Regions from separate parts of the Homo sapiens genome. Here region 1 is linked to region 2. The links are contacts of gene promoters, found by promoter capture Hi-C in blood cells and fetal thymus (Javierre and others, 2016). All regions are on one chromosome and are shown on one strand. The core of a region is centred on a gene start or on the middle of the fragment in contact, and the rest is flanking DNA. Distances in the headings are between cores, read along the strand shown. Region 1 holds the start of FBXO40 (F-box protein 40). Region 2 holds the start of CD86 (CD86 molecule).

Region 1 (3,075 bases), core at 206-2,705, 460 kb after region 2:
TTCAAGCTTGTAACAATCTTTGGTTTTGGTGCATAAGCCTATATAAGTTTTTCAACTTGAGAAATATTTCACTTATATTTCATGGATGCATTTTGGACTCAAGAGAGCTGGGGAGAAGAGGGCCACACTTAGAGAATATTGTTGGCGAAAAAAAGGTGTTAAACTCTGCGGAGTTTGAATAGTATATACAGAAAATACAGTTGTGCTTATTAACCAGTAGTATGACACAGCAGACGAAATTTTAAGCTACATGAGAATGACTTGCAAGCAAACATAGCAAATGTTGACTGGAGAAAAGATCACAGCATTTAGACTTTAGAAAACAGAAATTCTGATCAGGCACAGCGGCTCATGCTTGTATTCTCAGCACTTTGGGAGGCCGAAGCGGGTGGATCACTTGAGGCCAGGAGTTCAAGACCAGCCTGGCCAACATGGTGAAACCCCATCTCTACTAAAAATACAAAAATTAGCCAGGCGTGGTGGCACAGGCCTGTAGTCCCAGCTACTCAGGAGGCTGAAGCAGGAGGCTCTCTTGAACCTAGAAGGTGGAGGTTGCAGTGAGCTGAGACTGCACCACTGCACTCCAGCCTGGGCAACAGAGTGAGACTCTGTCTCAAAAAAATAATAACAATGAATTAAATAAATAAATAAATAATAGAAATTCTGGGCCAGGCACAGTGGCTCAGACCTGTAATCCCAGCGCTTTTGGAGGCTGAGGTGGGCGGATCATTTGAGGCCAGGAGTTCAAGACCAGCCTAGCCATCAAGGTGAAACTCTGTCTCTACTAAAAAAATACAAAAATTGGCCGGATGTGGTGGCATGTGCCTGTAGTCTCAGCTACTCGGAAGGCTGAGGCAGGAGAATCACTAGAACCTGGGAGGTAGGGGCTGCAGTGAGCCAAGATGGTGCCACTGCACTCCAGCCTGGGTGACAGAGCAAGACTGTCTCAAAAAAGAAAGAAAAGGGAATAGAAATCCTGGATTCTAGGCCTTCCACTTGTTTCCTCACCACCTCCTCCACTTCCCCAGATCCCCCCACCCATCACCATGTTGTAACTTTACAGATATCATAACTACTCTTGTTGATTATAGAAGAAAGAACCTAAGCTGTCAGAAAGCAAGTACTCTACCTGCTCTTGAAATGGAAACAGAAATTTACACACGGCTGGATCTCATTCTCAGTGCCAGCCTTTCCCCCACATCTTTACATAACTAATTTGCTTAACAATCCTCTTCCACAGGACACAAAAGTGATATGCGGCTCAGCTTCATCTGCATATTCACCACTGAATGTCCTCGTCATGGTGCACCTGCTCCTGTTTGAATACTTACCTTAATGGAACAGGCTGAGTCAGCATCTGCTTGCACCTGAACCCTTGATTGCAAGTAAGCGGATTGCCGGGAGGTGGCTGGGTTGCATCAGCTGCAGTAGAGGACAGCGTTCTGTTGGGAAGGCAGGGAAAGGAGAGAAAACTTCAACAGAAATAGTCCAAGTGTTGCGAAGTTAAAAATAAAACGATATCACAAGGGGCAATGTGACCAGGCTCAGCTTACGACTTTTTCCTTCCCCTGTATTTATCAACACTCAGTCTCTACTGGAGTGGCATTTAGCAGGGGAAACTGAATGGGAAGTGAAGTTTTATATCAATAGGTTTTCTTTCCCTTGAGGAAGGAGGAAAATCCTTTTAAGAAGGATCATTTTCAAGGCCAGAACAGCCTCTCAGATTCCTGCATGTGCAGTCGGCAGGCCCAGCTGTGCTGAAGGAGGCTGGCACAGCCTTCAGGACTGGCTGCTGCTCTAATTATAACCATGCTCCTCACCTAAACCCATCACTGGCTGAAGCAGCAACTTGTGCAAATGACATGGTGTCCTGCTTCAGTTTCTCCTATCTCTTGTCGTGACAAGTAAGTGTCTGTCCTCCCCTGGTCCTTTCATCTTTCCTGGAAAAGGGAGAGTTTGTAATTCAGATACCAGGTGTAGAGTAAATCCAGTGTGAGAGAATTAGAGGTTGTAGGAGGCTTTAGCTGTCATTTAGTCCAGCTCCCTCTTTTTACAGATGAGGAGACAGAGATTCAGAAAAGGGAAATTGCTCATCCAAGGTCACACATCTCGTTAGTGGAAGAGCCAGAGGAAAGCCCCAGAGAGCTTGTTTAACTCTCAGTCTAGCGTTCTTTATCTTATCATCTTCAGATAAACTCATTCAGGATCTTGTGAGTGAAAAAAATATAGAATCCCGGCTTTGGTGTTTTCTTTTTCTTTTTTTTTTTTTTGAGACAGAGTCTCGCTCTGTTGCCCAGGATAGAGTGCAGTGGCGTGATCTCGGCTCACTGCAACCTCCACCTCCTGGCTTCAAGTGATTCTCCTGCCTCAGCCTCCTGAGTATCTGGGATTACAGGCACGTACCACCATACCTGGCTAATTTTTGTATTTTTAGCAGAGACGGGGTTTCACCATGTTTGTCACGCTGGTCTCGAAATCCTGACCTCATGATCCTCCCACCTCAGCCTCCCAAAGTGCTGGGATTAGGTATGTGATTTTGACAAATTTACTTAACCATTTTCTATTTCAGTTTTCCCCATTGTGAAATGGCGATGATACTTGGTGCGACCACAGGTAACTGTGTCAGTACACATAAGGCACATGAATGATATGTACCACATGCCAAGTGCTCCACAATGCCAGCTGTTATTTGAATGTATTTGAATGTATTTTGACTAACAGCAGATGTGCTAAATTTGGCTGTGATTAACAGCCATCGAATTAACCTTTCCCCTGGATTCTTCATACATATATGTCCTTGGAGGTAAACTTATTTGGAATGAGCAAATAGCAGTTGAAAATTGTAAAAAATTTCTACACTGATCTTGTATCTTGAAACTTTGCTGAACTGGTTTATTAGTTCTAATAGTTTTCTTGTGGATTCCTTAGGATTTTCAAGACCATGCCATCTGTTAACAAAAATATTTTAACTTCTTTCTTTGCGATTTGGATGCCTTTAACTTCCTTTTCTTGCTGTTTTTCCCTGCCTAGAACTTCCAGCACTATGTTTAACAAGAGTGGTGAGAGTGGCCACAC
Region 2 (2,980 bases), core at 220-2,719:
AAATTTTGAAATTCTTTTTTTCTTCATACAAGTATAACGCTTCAAAATTCCACTGGAGCAAAAGGAATCTTTACTGGAAAATTAAATTTTAATCTTCTGAAATAAAAGCAACAAAGCTTTTTCTCAAACCAGTAAGCACTGGGTAGATGAAAGTTACTTCGATTTTCAAAGAACAGTAATTATAAATACATAGTGACGGCCGGGTGCGCGGTGGCTCACGCCTGTAATCCCAGCACTTTGGGAGGCCGAGGTGGCCAGATCACAAGGTCAAGAGATCGAGACCATCCTGGCCAACATGGTGGACCCCGTCTCTACCAAAAATACAAAAATTAGCCGGGCGTGGTGGTGGGCGCCTGTAGTCCCAGCTACTCAGGAGACTGAGGAAGGAGAATCGTTTGAATCCGAGAGGCGGAGGTTGCAGTGAGCTGAGATTGCGCCACTGCACTCCAGCTTGGCGACAGAGCGAGACTCTGTTTCAAAAATAAATAATTAAAAATAAATAAATACATAGTGACTGGCGCCAGCTGCCACCACCCAAGAGAAGGGCGGGTGTGACTCCTTCCAGGAAGTCTCCACAGCATGGAGAAACCTTCTGGCGCACCACGAAGCGGGCAGGAAAGATTTTAGCTCTACCCCTTATGAATAGTGTGAACTTGGGCAAGTTTTTTAAGCCACAGTTACCCCATCTGTCAAAAAGAATGATGATGTCTTTCCAAAAGTCATTGTGAAGAATAAAATTCAATGAAATAGCACTAGTAAAGTACCCAGCACATCATGCATGTTCAATACATGGTAACTAATTTAATCACTCTACCTCCTTCCACTACCCAACCCTGCCCAGAATCTCCCATGGCCTGATTATGACATATTAACTGAGTTTTGCATTTTCTCCTTATACCTCTTTTTTCTCTTTCTTTTTCTTGATCTCTCTCCCTCTACCTTCTCTATCTCATTCCTCCACCCTCAGACCAAACTGACCCTGGTAGACAAAAAACATATTCCCTGTTATTTGTCATTCTTATGCAGATATTTTAAAAATTCCTGATTCTTCACTAAAATCAATGACTGTAACATTCAGTATTTGAATAACAGATTTACAAAACCAAAATTAGGCACCTAAAAATATATATAACTACCACCAATGAACTGCTTTGGGCATTGCAAATAATTCTTGCCTTTATGTGCCAAAGATCTTTTGTAGAAAAAGAAAGCTTCTCCACTTAGGAACTAAGTGAAGGACACACATCAAAGCACCATCTTCAACCTCAGCCTTTCACTGCAGTCACAACTCATAACTTCTCTGCAAAGAATAAGAATTATTACTCACCACTGGGGATCCATTTTGGCTGCTTCTGCTGTGACCTAATATCTGGAAATGACCCCACTCATCCGTGTGTCTGTGCTAGTCCCTGTTACAGCAGCAGAGAAGCAAAGCTTTCACCCTGTGCAAGCCTTCCTCGGCAATGACTGTATACCTACCCAGCTAACTTTCTTTAAGAGAAGCTGTTCCTCTTTTCTCTACAGATTTTGACCACACTTGAGGAAGAAATTTAACCCTTTCCTTGCAGTTTAAACTCATTGACGTAGGTCTATATGTATTAAAGAATATATAATTCAGTAGCTTGAGTTCCAGACATGACGTTAAGATGAGCCTGAATAAAAAATCTCCCCTCTTGAAATTCCCTCAAAAAACCTAGAAAATAAAATAATTAGAAAGAGAAAACAAACCTCCGCAGCAACAAAATAGAATAAAGAGGCATTCTACAGATTTTGATAAGATAATAAAAAGTGATTTATTGTGGATGTGGATTGGGAGTGAGTAGCCACCTAACCCTGCCAATTTCCACAACCAAAGTGTGGAGAGTTTCACTGAGCTGGGGTGGGGGGATGGGAGATGGGGAGATGTTCTGTAAGGACTGCATAACCAAGGAGGGCAGACAGAAGCTACTGCTTTTATTATTTCATTCCTACTATAGCCAAGGATTACATTGATGAAAGCGAATATTCTGAAACAGAAGTCTGAAAAAAAGGCAGCATTATAAAATTAATAGATGTCCCTAAGAGACAAACATAGAATTAATCAAGCAGAAACTATACTAGAAGATATTTCCTCGTATGAATTAAAATGGGCATCATCTAGAAACTCAAACTGTTTAGTGTATCAAAGCAAAAGTTATGAAAATCGATTCTCATCCAGACAAATCATTTTGAACATTTTAAATTCCAAAGGCAAAGCTAAAAACAAAATGAAAACAGAATGACTACAGAGAAACAAAAAACAACTTGGCATCTTACTCAACCCTAAATGGCAAAAAACAACAGAACAATATCTGCAGAATTTTGAATTAGCATTATCTACCTAGATAAGATGCCAGTTAAGTGTCAAGTCAATAGAAATATGTCACCAAGCAGGCAAGAAAACAACAACTGCAACAGAAATACCACCACCAAGACAGCCTTCCTAAATAAATTATTTAAGGATATATTCCAGAATAATAAATGAATTAAAATAGCCTTAAAATGGAGAAGCCATGGCTGAAAACACCAGTGCTGAGCTTTAAAGCAAGTTAAACATGGAGAAATAAGGCTAAATAATTATAAATTAGTTTAGACCAAAATGCTAAATAAGAAAAACTTATTAGAAGTAGATTACATATATTATTTCAAGGAAGTTTAAAAATAGCAGATGACATCACTGCTAACTAGAGCAAGGAAGCAAAATCAACACAATTATTAATCTTCAAATAAGAAGATAGAACAATGATTATTTTATCAACTTTGATAATTTCATCTGGATTTGAGAATTTTAAAAAATGAAGACAGCAATAATATAAGTTATCTATCTTCAAAATTATTGCAGAGCAGGAGTGCAAATAAAATAGTATTTATAACTACATAACACATCAGAAATAAGATGAGATAAAAAAATCCATGTAAACCTCATTTGTTATAAATATTAAATATTAAAGGTATGGGATGT

The links. Contacts are between HindIII fragments. The CHiCAGO score rates a contact against its expected background, and 5 or more counts as called.
Region 1: a contact is called between the fragment with the promoter of FBXO40 here and the fragment with the promoter of CD86 in region 2, in 8 of 17 cell types (naive CD8 T cells, endothelial precursors, erythroblasts and 5 more). The highest score is 11.1, in naive CD8 T cells.

What each region holds. Positions count from the first base shown.
Region 1 is chr3:121,591,759-121,594,833 of GRCh38, reverse strand. It overlaps FBXO40 (F-box protein 40), which reads right to left and starts at 1,455. Exons shown (of 4, transcript NM_016298.4): 1 at 1,332-1,455. RefSeq lists enhancers at 783-1,434, 1,435-2,085, 899-2,098 and a silencer at 1,218-1,512. The HindIII fragment of the contact is 3,467 bases long and covers 9-3,075 here.
Region 2 is chr3:122,053,851-122,056,830 of GRCh38, reverse strand. CD86 (CD86 molecule) reads right to left here and starts at 1,469. Exons shown (of 7, transcript NM_175862.5): 1 at 1,328-1,469. The coding sequence starts at 1,341. It also overlaps a transcript of ILDR1 not described here. The HindIII fragment of the contact is 6,821 bases long and covers 1,437-2,980 here.